Regions from separate parts of the Homo sapiens genome. Here region 1 is linked to region 2. The links are contacts of gene promoters, found by promoter capture Hi-C in human tissues and cell types (Jung and others, 2019). All regions are on one chromosome and are shown on one strand. The core of a region is centred on a gene start or on the middle of the fragment in contact, and the rest is flanking DNA. Distances in the headings are between cores, read along the strand shown.

The links. Contacts are between HindIII fragments. The study calls those that stand out against the background at their distance.
Region 1: a contact is called between a fragment that was not itself captured here and the fragment with the promoter of DPT in region 2, in 1 of the 25 tissues and cell types used here (thymus).

Annotation. Positions count from the first base shown.
Region 1 is chr1:169,244,557-169,250,430 of GRCh38, forward strand. All of the region lies in intron 7 of NME7 (NME/NM23 family member 7), which reads right to left. Among named protein-coding and RNA genes, the nearest start is that of NME7, 120 kb to the right of the region's middle. The HindIII fragment of the contact is 7,360 bases long and covers 1-5,368 here.
Region 2 is chr1:168,724,860-168,731,316 of GRCh38, forward strand. DPT (dermatopontin) reads right to left here and starts at 4,347. Exons shown (of 4, transcript NM_001937.5): 1 at 4,011-4,347. The coding sequence starts at 4,315. The HindIII fragment of the contact is 7,078 bases long and covers 1,684-6,457 here.

The DNA.
Region 1 (5,874 bases), core at 439-2,938, 520 kb after region 2:
ACCTGGGAGGCGGAGCTTTCAGTGAGCCGAGATTGCACCACTGCACTCCAGCCTGGACCACAGACTGAGACTCCATCTCAAAAAAAAAAAAAAAAAAAATTAAGTTGTTAAAAAGTAGATGCATAGTATTCTTCAAAATTCTAACAAAATTGGTTTTCATAGTTAATAATCTAATAGTTTTATTTTGCCACATGTATCTATATCAAAAATATTTCTTGTGAAAATAACTTATTCTGATGTTAAGGTCTTTCCTGGCATCAATATTTTCCCTTGATATCACAATATCTACCACCTGGGTGCGGTGGCTCATGCCTGTAATCCTAGCACTTTGGGAGGACAAGGTGGGTGGATCACTTGAGGTCCTGAGTTCAAGCCCAGCCTGGCCAACATGGAGAAACCCTATCTCTACTAAAAATACAAAAATTAGCCAGACATAGTGCCACATGCCTGTAATCCCAGCTACCTGGGAGGCTGAGGCACAAGAATCGCTTGAACCCAGGAGGCAGAGCTTACAGTGAGCCAAGATTATGCCACTGTCCTCCAGCCTGGGTGACAGAACAAGATTCTGTCTCAGAACAACAACAACAAAAATAAAACAAATAAACAGAAAATCATAGTATCTATCATCTATAATATACCTCACAGCAATCTTGCAGCCAATGAGCCCCTTACACTGTAGAAACACTTGAAAAATATCGTTACCATGAATGTTAAACTTACTGGATGTAACAGCAAGATACAGATGACAACAAAACCCTACTCACGAGCATGAGAGCCCATGAAAAGGACACTTTGGTGAGCAAAACAACTTACAAAACTGAAATTTAAAGAAGCGACCAGGCTGTTGTACAAGATAATTCACTATCACCTGTATGCTTTGCTTCACAATCCATATAATAAACAGGGGTGGTGGGAAATAAAACGAAACGATTTTTAAAAATGAAAAAATGTCAACAAGGAAATCTTGCAGTTTATTTTGGAAAGAAACTGAAAGAAAAGTTTTAATCGTGATGTAGCCAAGAGTACACGAACTAATAAAACTGGTGCCTAAAATAGACATGTTTAATATTAATAACCATAACCAATTTAAATCAAATTGGAAGGATATGATTTCCTTTAAAATTTAAATCTAGTGAAATAAAATTCAAAGCCATTTTAACTAAAAAATAGACGTGTATCTTTAAAACATGATTAGTGTAAAGACAAATCAAAAAACTAGAGATTATGAGAGTTTAATGTTCAATGCTAACATATAAAAGAAATCACAAGTGTTACTAAAGTCAACAGAAGGAATTTAATACTAATCTTGGCAAACATGCATAACAAATAACCTTAGGCATAAAAACCAGGTGGAAAAGCTTTCTGTCTCCTAGAGAGCAATATGTTACTAGGCAATACCACTTCACTGATAATCTTCCTGTAATTTTTAATGGAAGCACTCAGATTGGTTTAAGCTACAAATGTCTATGGTTTTCTGCCTTGCAATAAGGAAAAATATTGTAGAATTATATTAAATCAATTGCAGACAAGAGTCTGGATTCCAGACCATCCTGGGCAACATGGTAAAACTTCATGTCTACAAAAAATATGAAAAAAAAAATTAGCCAGGTATGATGGTGTGTGCCTGTAGTCCCAGATACTCAGGAGGCTAAGGTGGGAGGATCACTAGGGCTCAGGAGGCCAAGGTTGCAGTGAGCTGAGATGGCACAACTGCAATCCAGCCTGGGTGACAGAGCGAGACCGTGTCTCAAAAAAGTAAAAACAAATCAAAATAAATAAGAGTTTGGATTCCACAGAATTGTTAAATTGGGAACCAGTAAGGCACTTAGGTCTTAATGGATCTCAAATTAATCCATCAGGTGATCATAAAACCCACATTAGTAGAAAGTAGCTTTTAAAAGACAGATTTAATTCATCCAATAGATTTCTGATCCTCCACTAACACCACATACCCAAATCTGAAATTCACATTTTTCCTTACCAATTTCCTAACAAGAACAAGCTGTACATTCCTTACAAGGTAGTAAAAAGAGTAACCAATAGAACTTTATTTTATTTGTATTTTTTTTTAGAGGTGGGGCCTTGCTATGTTACTCAAGCTGGACTTGAACTCCTGGGCTTAAGTGATTCAACTACCTCAGCCTCCCAAGCAGCTAGGACTACAGGCATGTGCCACCATGCCCAGCTAATTATTAAAAATTATTTGTAGAGACAGGGTCTCACTGTTGCCCAGACTGGTATCAAACTCCTGGCCTGAAGTGATCTTCCCACCTGAGCCTCCCAAAGTGCTGGGATTACAGGCATAAGCCACTGCATCTGGTCCAGTATAACAACACCTTTGTAGATATACCTACAATATGGTGACTTTGTGTACTGAAATTCATCAAGATGCAATTAAGTGAGTAGAAAATAATAAAAACAGGCTCCATACCATCATAGGGACAGCAGAGAAGACCTATGGGAATGAAGATTTCCAGGAAAGAGTAGTCAGGGGTTCCTCCTCACTGTGAAGAAAGACAGGCTCAGCATGCAAAGGAAGCTAAGAACAGCTATACCTTGGTTGAAATAAGATCACAGTTTTAAAACAAGGACAGTCTAAGAAAAACAAAATAAAGTACGGTACTGAGTAGATAGGCTGGAAACTGAAAACTGTGTAAGATTGGGTAAATAGGTCATATGAAGTCTAAAGTCAAAGTCAGGTTAATACAGAAAAGTTAACCACACAATCACAAAGTAAAATTAAGTTTCTACAGCACAGGGTACTGCCAGCTATGGATAGAGTGAGCTGCTTCCTAATCTTAAGAGGCCAGTCTCTATGTGGTTGGAGTAAGCAAATGTCCCATTAGAAGCCAAATCCATGTTTCTAGGAGATTTTCATGAATGTTATTATGCAGGGGCTATTCTCATTATATGAAAATCTCAGTTTTTAAAATTTTTTTATTTCAATAGTTTTTGGGGTACAAGTGGTTTTGGTCACACGGATGAATTATATAGTGGTGAAGTCTGAGATTTTAGTGCACCCATCATCCAAGTAGTGTACATTGTACCCAATAAGTAGTTTTTTAATCCCTCACCCCCCTCAACCCTCCCTCTTCTGAGTCGCCAAAGTCCATCATAGAATTCTGTATGCCTTTGCATACCCGTATCTTGGTTCCCACTTATAAGTGAGAACATACGGTTTTTGGTTTTTCCATTCCTGAGTACTTCACTTAGAATAATGGCTTCTAGCTCCATCCAAGTTACTGCAAAACACATTATTTCATTATTTTTATGGCTGAGTAGTATTCCATGGTGTATATATATCACATTTTCTTTATCCACTCATTCGTTAATGGACACTTAGATTGGTTCCATACGTTTGCAACTGTGAATTGTGTTGCAATAAACATATGCGTGCAAGTGTCTTTAATATAATCACTTATTTTCCTTTGGGTAGATACTGAGTAGTGGGATTGCTGAATCAAATGACAGATCTACTTTTAGTTCTTTAAGAAATCTCCATATTGTTTTTTATACAGTTTGTACTAATTTACATTCCTACCAGCAGTGTATAGGTGTTCCCTTTTCACCACATCTATGCCAACATCTATTATTTTTTGACTTTTTAATAATGGCTATTTTTGCAGGAGTAAGGCAGTATCTCATTGTATTTTTAATTTGCATATTCCTGATGATCAGTGATGTTTAGCATTTTTCATATGTTCTTTACCATTCTTATATCCTCTTTTGAGAAATGTCTATTCATGTTATTTGCCCACATTTTGATGGGATTTTTTTTTCTTGTTGATGTACTTGAGTTCATTGTAGATTCTAGATATTAGTCCTTTGCTAGATGTATAGTTTGCAGATATTTTCTCCCACTCTGTGGGTTGTCTATTTATTCTGATAGTTATTTCTTTTAATGTACTGAAGTTTCTTTTATTTAATTAGGTCCTATTTATTTATTTTTATTTTAGTTGCATTTGCTTTTGGGGTCCTACTCACGAATTATTTGCCTAAGCCAATGTCCAGAATAGTTTTTCCTAGGTTATCTTCTATAATTTTTATAGTTTCATGTCTTAGATTTACATCTTTGAACCATCTTGAGATGATTTTTGTATAAGGTAAGGGATAAGCATCCAGTTTCATTCTTCTACATGTGGTTATCCAGTTTTCCCAGCATTATTTATTAAATAAGGTGTCCTTTCCTCAGCCTGTGTTTCTCTATGCTTTGTTGAAGATCAGTTGGTTGTAAGTATTTGGCTTTATTTCTGGGTTCTCTATTCTGTTCCACTGCTCTATGTGCCTACTTTTATACCAGCACTATTTTTGTAACTACAGCCTTGTGGCAAACATCTGATAATGTGATGCCTCTACGTCTGTTTTCTTGTTTGTTTGTTTTTTTGCATAGGATTGCTTTGGCTATTCAGGTTCTTTTTCTGGTTTCATATGAATTTTAGAATTGTTTTTTCTAATTCTGTGAAAAATGATGTTGGTATTTTGATAGGAATTGCACTGAATCAGTGGATTGCTTTGGGTAGTATGGTCATTTTCATGATATTGATTATTCCAATCCATGAGCATGGGATGTGTTTCCATTTGTTTGTGTCATCTATGATTTCTATCAGCAGTGTTTTGTAGTTCTCCTTGTAGAGATCTTTTACCTCCTTGGTTAAATATATTCCTAGGTAATTTATTTTTTTCCAGCTGTTGTGAAAAGGACTGAGTTCTTGATCTGATTCTCAGCATGGTCATTGTTGGTGTATAGCACTGCTACTGATTTGTGTATATTGATTTTGTGACCTGAGACTACGGAATTCATTTGTCAAATCCAGGAGTCTTTTGGAGGAGTATTTAGGGTTTTCTAGGTATACAGTCATATTATTCATGAACAGCAATAGCTTGATGTCCTCTTTTTCAATTTGGATGCCCTTTGTTTCTTATCCTTGCCTGATTGCTCTGGTTAGGACTTCCAGCACTATGCTGAATAGAAGTGGTGAAAGTGGCATCCTTGTCTTGTTCCAGTTCTCAAGGGGAATACTTTCAACTTTTCCCCATTTATTATGATGTTAGCTGTGGGTCTGTCATATATGGCTTTCATTAGTTTTAGGTAAAGTTCCTTTTATATCTGTTTGTTGAGTTTTTTTATACGGGGATGCTGGATTTTATGAAATGCTTTTTCTGCATCTATTCAGATGATCATAGAGTTTTTCTTTTTAATTCCTTTTATCAGATGTATCCCATTTATTGACTTGCATATTTTAAACCATCCCTGCATCCCTGGAATGAAACCTACTTGGTCATGGTGTATTATCTTTTTGATGTGCTGCTTGAATTAGCTAGTATTTTGTTGAGGATTTTTGCATCTATGTTCATCAGGGGTATTGGTCTGTAGTTTTCTTTTTTTCTTATGTCTTTTCCTGGTTGTGGTATCAGAATGATACTGGCTTCATAGAATGAGTTAGGGAGGATCCCTCTTTCTTAATCTTTTGGAATAGTTTCAGTAGGATTGGTCCCAGTTCTCTGAATGTCTGGTAGGATTCAGTTGTGAATCCATGTGGCCCCAAGCTATTTTTTTTTCTTGGCAATTGTTTTGATTAGTGATTCAATCGCACTGCTTGTTCTTGGTCTGTTCGGGGTTTCTATTTCTTCCTGGCTTAATCTAGGAGTGTTTATGTTTCCTGGAATTTATCCATTTCCTCTAGATTTTTTAGTTTGTGTGCATAGAGGTGTTCACAGTGGTCTCAAATGATCTTTTTTATTTCTGTGGGGTTGGTTGTAAAGTCTCCAGTTTCATTTCTAATTGAACTTACTTTAACCTCTCCTGGTTAATCTAGCTAATGGTCTATCAACTTTGTTTATCTTTTTGAAAAACCAACTTTTAGTGTCATTGAT
Region 2 (6,457 bases), core at 3,097-5,596:
GTCTGTGGCTTGTCATTGAATTCATAAACTCAGCTCTAACACAAACTGCCACTCCAAAACTTCTCCTTGAGATTCTTTGAAGCCCGGGGTAAAAAGTAGATACCAATAAATGGACCACTTTTCCTCTGAACTCAGACTCCGTGGAAAGCTGGCTTGCCCAACATCAGCCACATCAATTTCAGATTCACTAAACTTTTACTACCTGCCCATGATGTGCTAGGCATTTGTTTTAGACTTCAATTTGCTTTAGAGTTTTCTTATACTTTATCCTACAAGTATCACAGTAACACAAGTAGCAGCTTGTGAGGTGGGAGTCACACCTTCCTTTTTCTTCCTTTGCTTTTCTTTCCTTTCCATTCCTTTCCTTTCCTTTCCTTTCCTTTCCTTTCCTTTCTCTTTCCCTTCCTTTCTTCCTTCCTTCTTTCCTTCCTTCCTTCAATCCTTCCTTCCTCCCTCCCTCCCTTCCTTCTCTCTCTCTCTTTCTTTCTTTCTTCTCTTTCTTTTTTGCCAGAATGAGATACCGAATGTCACAGATACAAGCAGGAGCTGTGAATCCAGGTTTCCTGCATCCAAGCCCAGGGCTCCTTCCGCTACACAGTAGCTCAATCTCACTAGAAAATTTCACCTTCATCTTATTCCACACAGGACCCAGTGCCCTACAGCCTGTGCTGACCCAAGTTAGAGCAGATTCCCTGAGAACAACCTAGGCATGCCCTGGGATGGTGAAATACCACTCATGGGGACCCAGGTAAGGCCTCCTGGTAGTTGTTAGTGCCAGAGACCATCATCCAAACTTCAGAAGCCGGCACTTGAAGAGGTGATTTTCAACAGAGAAACTGTGATCAATGGCAGCACCACAGACCACTCAGCTATGATGGCAACACCTTTTAAAGATGGCACTTTGATTAGAAAGATTTTCTTTTTAGCAGATCCTATGTGCTATTGTCAAGCCTATATTCGAGACTCCTCCCCTCTTTTAAAATAAACCTGAAAGCTAATTTGGTTATACAAGGCAGCCCAACTGCACAAAACCATCAACAACTGTTCCCTGAGAACAGACTAAGCCTGTAGCCAACGTCAGATGTAATAGCTCCCCAGCCCATAAGCAATTTCTTTCCTTACAGATTTTTCACTGAGACTGGAGGCTGAACTCAAAGGCATAATCATTTTTAAAAGTGCTTCCAGGGTAATTCGTGTCAGTCCTGGGGCAGCTGGATCTTATTGTAAAGAAGTTGTTTTGCATGTTTGTGAGTTTTCAACCCTGTGATTAGTAGACGGGGAGAAGGAGGCAACAGAGGGTGGAAGGAGGAAAGGAAACCAAAATTACTAGACACTGCACACCCAAAAATGCCGAGTAAGAGGAGGTGGAAGAGGTATCTCGCCTATCAGCTTTTCCCTTGACTCCCATGGGCCAAATAAAATCATGTTATTTCACCTTCTTCCTCTTTTGCTTTTCTTCAAATAGTTTGGGAGTTCATGACAAACCAGTCACAGTTGGCAAGTTTAAAACTAAACATCATTTGGCTTCTCTCTCTAGCAGGGATGAACACAAAGATCAACAGAATGCAAGAAAAAGCCAAGAGTGTTTTCAGGGGTGAGCCACAGCTCTGTGGAGCCTTCAGAGATCATGCAGCCTGACTGCTCACTTTCCAAATGAGGCGGGAGACTGGAGGGCTGAGCGTCTGGGCCAAGGTCACACCACAAGTCATTAGAACCAGGATCCAGACCCAGGCCTCCTGATTCAGAGCCTAGGGCTCTTCCTCTATGGCTTGGGGAACCATGGCTGAGTGCTGCTTGACTGTGGCACAAAAAACGGCTGTTAGAAAGGAGTCGCACCCATGCGATAGTGCTCCTGAGAGGTGAGGACTGGAGGGACAGTTGTAATTAGGTCATTGCCATGCTCCACATTAGGCAGTGGGCCTGGCTGTGAGGAGTCATGGAGACAACAATCAAGGTGAGCCTGGTCTCTGAATCAGCATCTGTCAGAAGGGGTTTTGAATAACTAAATCTGCTCACCAGAGGCCATGGGGGTGGATGAGAATGGCCCACAAAGGCTGTCCAAGCAGCCTCCACAGCCCCGGCACCCTCACCTGCTGCTGCCTGTGTGAGTCCTCTCCCCACCCCTTCTACAGTCCGGCTGAGCCCCTCCACAGTCCTGGTAACCAAGTAGGGATCATCCCTCTGGGGCTGGGCTTCTGCTGTGGTCTTGCAGGTCCCCACCCTCTCCAGGAGGAAGAACTGCCCTGAATCTGGTCCTGTGGCACTGGCTCTGCTGACAGAGTCAGCTGTCGGGTGGGAGCCCACTCTGGGTGGAGGCAGCAGCCTCTCAGGAGCCCGTCACTGTGGCAAAGTACAAACTCTTTGAAGCAAAGACTCTGTGGATCCAAACCCCAGCTTTCTAGCCGAGGAAATACTGGATCTCTAGACTGCAGTTTGTCTACCTATAAATGGGATATACCCTTGTTTTGAGCATTACACGAGATGATCCACATAAAGCACTTAGCATGGAGCCTGCTCAGGGTAAGCACTCAATAAATGGTAGCTGTTGTCATTACTTAAAGGCCCGCTCTCTTTCCTGGCTCCCCCACCCATCGGTGTTTCTTCCTCTTGGATTTCCCATCATCACCTCTCTACTGGTTGTGTCCCCCAGGGTTCTATGCTTTTTCTTTTTTCTATTTTCTTTTTTTTTTTTTTTTGAGGCAGAGTCTTGCTCTGCCACCCAGGAGGGAATACAGTGGTGCGAGCATGGCTCACTGCAGCCTCGACTCCCTGGGCTCAAGTGATCCTCCTACCTTAGCCTCCTGAGTAGCTGGGACCACAGGCTGCATGCAACTACACCGGGCTAATTTTTTTTTTTCTGTAGAGATAGGGTCTGGCTGTGTTCCCTAGGCTGGTCTCGAACTCTTGATCTCAAGTGATCCTCCCTCCCCAGCCTCCCAAAGTGTTTGGGATTACAGGCGTGAGCCACCACACCTGGCCAGATTTTGTGCTTGACCCCTCCAATCCCCACTACACTAAGTACTTGTTGCCACACATCTGGGTTGCTCTACAGATAGCACATGCAGCAGCCCTCCAGGTGGGCTTCCTCCTCCCTGGACTGCCTCCTCCGTTCTCTCCTCCAAGCCTCCTAGAGTGCTGGCTCCATCTAGGCTGTTGTAAATAATCAGCCTAGCAGTCAGTGCCTACTAGGATGAGCTCCTGACCAAGCACCTGGGCTGAGACCCAGCTGAGACAATCACACCCCACAAAAAAGTACAAGCTCGAAAAAATTCCATGCCACTGCTTAAGGCAGAATGCAGTCAGGGGAAGACAGCACCTCTCTCCAAAACCCTTTAGTAAACTATTTTCCAGCAATAAAACCCACTTTAAATTCAGGCAGAGAGAAGGACCTCAGTACTCATAATTGAGAGAGCACATTTAATCAAGGCAGTAGACAGCTATTTAATTCCACTTTCTTTTGCCTAAATGTCCTTGTCCCCTCTTTTCCATTCACTTGCTCTAAATCAATAGTTCTCAAACCCTCCGTGCTGAGAGATCAATTGTTTATTTTTCTTGTTCCCAAACTACTGTGGGCCAGTACTTTTGTAAAATGGTAAAAATAAATTTCTAAAAAAGAAAAATGCCATTCCGATGGCACAGAAAGTTTTAATTTCTATAAAGTTTATTACTTTCAGTTTCTGTACATATCTTTTGGTAGTCTGGTAAGCAAGCTTCTCGCCGACCTACACCAGCCCCTGGCCCAAACTGAGAGTAGGTAGAACAGCTTCTGGAAGGAACAGAGCCACAGAGGAGTCTGTCTCCCACAGACACTCCCCATCCCAGGTTTTTGTCCTGTCATGTAGTCCGCTCAGCAGCAGCCCTGCTCCACCCAGAGCATGCAGTGGTGAGGTTTGGGGTGGGATTTGCCCAGGCTTTGGTTACTGATATTCCTTGAGAGTCTAGCAGCCCCCAGGAGGAGGGATATGCAGAGATGTTCCCAGCCCCAGTGCAGTGCAGGGACTGGCCCTTACCATTCCATGCCAGCCCTGTTGATCTCCTCCCACCAGCACTCCGTGGGTTCCCCGAGGCTCTGTGGCGTGGGCATGCAGGCGTAGTTCCATTGTCTGTCAGAACCTTCCTTCTTGCTGAAGATGCTCCTCACGGCCACTATCACCTGCCCCTGGGGACACTGGTAGCTGAAGCCTTGCCGGTTCAAATTCACCCACCCATCATCGCTGTAGTCATGATACTGCTGGTATGGGTATCCATAATCGCCATACTGGCCCCAGGCCATGGTGACTAGGGGCAGAAGTACCCAGAGAAGACTGAGGTCCATGCTGCCTGGGATTTTGGCAAACAATGTCACTCTAAGATTGCTGGTCTGACCGTTTTATATAGCTGCCGCTGACATGTGGCTTCCAGATGTGGGTGAGAAGGATCCAACTGCAGTGTGTCATTGCTTAAGCAAAACTTTTCCATGCTGAGATGTCAGCCATAAGGACATTCAGCTTGTTTTAAGGTGGAATTCTAGGAATATACCAGCAGCATGTAAGTCTAAGAAGCTCCCTGGAGAAAGAACAACTTTGTATCTAGATTATAAAAGCCAACTGCTGCTCTACCCTGTAGAAATATTCACTTGAAAAACACTGATTAGTAGCATATTTGTCCCTCACCTTTCAGCACCTCACCCCTTTCTGTCCTACCCTACCCGCTACTAGCAAACCCCTGTATTTGTTCTCCAAACTAGCCTTCCGGGCCACACAAATACCCAGACAGTGATTTCAAAATACCGAAATCATAGACTGAAGTAACAGAGCCATCTAGGATTTCTGTAAGGCTGAATGCCTGTTTTTTTTTTTAAGTTGTCAATCCAACACTTTTTAACCCTTGAGTATAAGCGCGGGTATACCAGTTTGCAGGGCTACTCTGAGAACTCATAAGTTGCATAAGGAAGTACTATGGGCCCATGGGGAGATAAGTTGGATATGATTTCTACACTTAAGCATTCTACCATGCTGCTGAAATTGGACCCAGTCAAGTCTAGAAAGTGTGCTCTGCTCTCAAAATGTAATGGGTTTAATCTAAATAAACCCCCTATTTATCCTTCAGTATTTTTGCCCTCACATTGAATTTTCTTTTCATTGAGTTATAATTTACATATAATTAATTCACCTTTTAAAATACATAATGTACAGTAACATAGCCAGCACCCTAATCAAGACTTAGAACAGTTCCATCAATCCAAAACATCCCCTTATATCCCTTTGCAGTCAAATCTTCCCAAACACCCAGCCATTGGTAACCACTGATTTACTTTCTGTCTCTATGGTTTTGCCTTTTCCAGAATGTCAAGTAAATGGAATCATACCACACGTAGCCTTTCATGTCCATCTTTCACTTAGCATAATGCTTTTAAGGTTCATCCATTTTAAAATTCAACATCTCATTGTATGTGTTAGTATTTTGTTTCTTGTTATTGTTGAGTAATATTCCATAGCATGGATGTACCACAGATTGTTTATACATTTACTAGTTGAAAGACATTTGGGTTGTTTCCAGTTTTTGAAAATTCATTACTTTTTATGTAATGAATTTTATATTCATTATATTTTATATAATGAATTACATAAATGTAATTATAAAGTTGATATAAACATCTATGTATAGGTTTTTGTGTGAACAAATTTTTATTTCATTTGGGTCAATACCTAGGAGTGAGATTGCTGGTTCACAAGGTAATGTATGTTTAACTTTAAAAGAAACTACTGAGGCCGGGTGTGGTGGCTCATGCTTGTAATCCCAGCACTTTAGGAGGCCGAGGCGGGCGGATCACGAGGTCAGGAGATCGAGACCATCCTGGCTAACATGGTGAAACCCCGCCTCTACTAAAAATACAAAAAATTAGCCAGGCTTAGTGGCGGGCGCCTGTAGTCCCAGCTACTCGGGAGGCTGAGACAGGAGAATGGCGTGAACCCGAGAAGCGGAGCTTGCAGTGAGCCGAGATTGTGCCACTGCACTCCAGCCTGGGCTACAGAGCGAGACTCCGTCTCAAAAAAACAAAAAAAAGAAAGCAAGAAACTACCTAGCTGATTTCCAAAGTGGTGATACCATTGCCCACCACTACCAGAAAATTGCCATTAAAAAATTTTAGCTATTCAAATAGGTTTGTAGTGATATTTCAGTGTGGTTGTGATTTTCATTTCTCTAATGATCCATGATTTTGAGCATCTTTTCATGTGCTCATTACCCATTCCATGCATCCGTTGATGATTTGGCTTTTCAAATTTTTTGAAACCTTTGGGCATCTCTTAAGCACATAGTATTTCCCATTTCTCATCAGTATTGTTCTTAAAGTTTCTTAGAATTGTGATCATAGACCAATTCTATCTACAGCCTCTGTGAAGTTTGTTAAAATGTAGACAGTGGCTCTTCTCCAGGCCTGCTAAATCATAACCTCACAAGGGGTGCTCAGGTATTT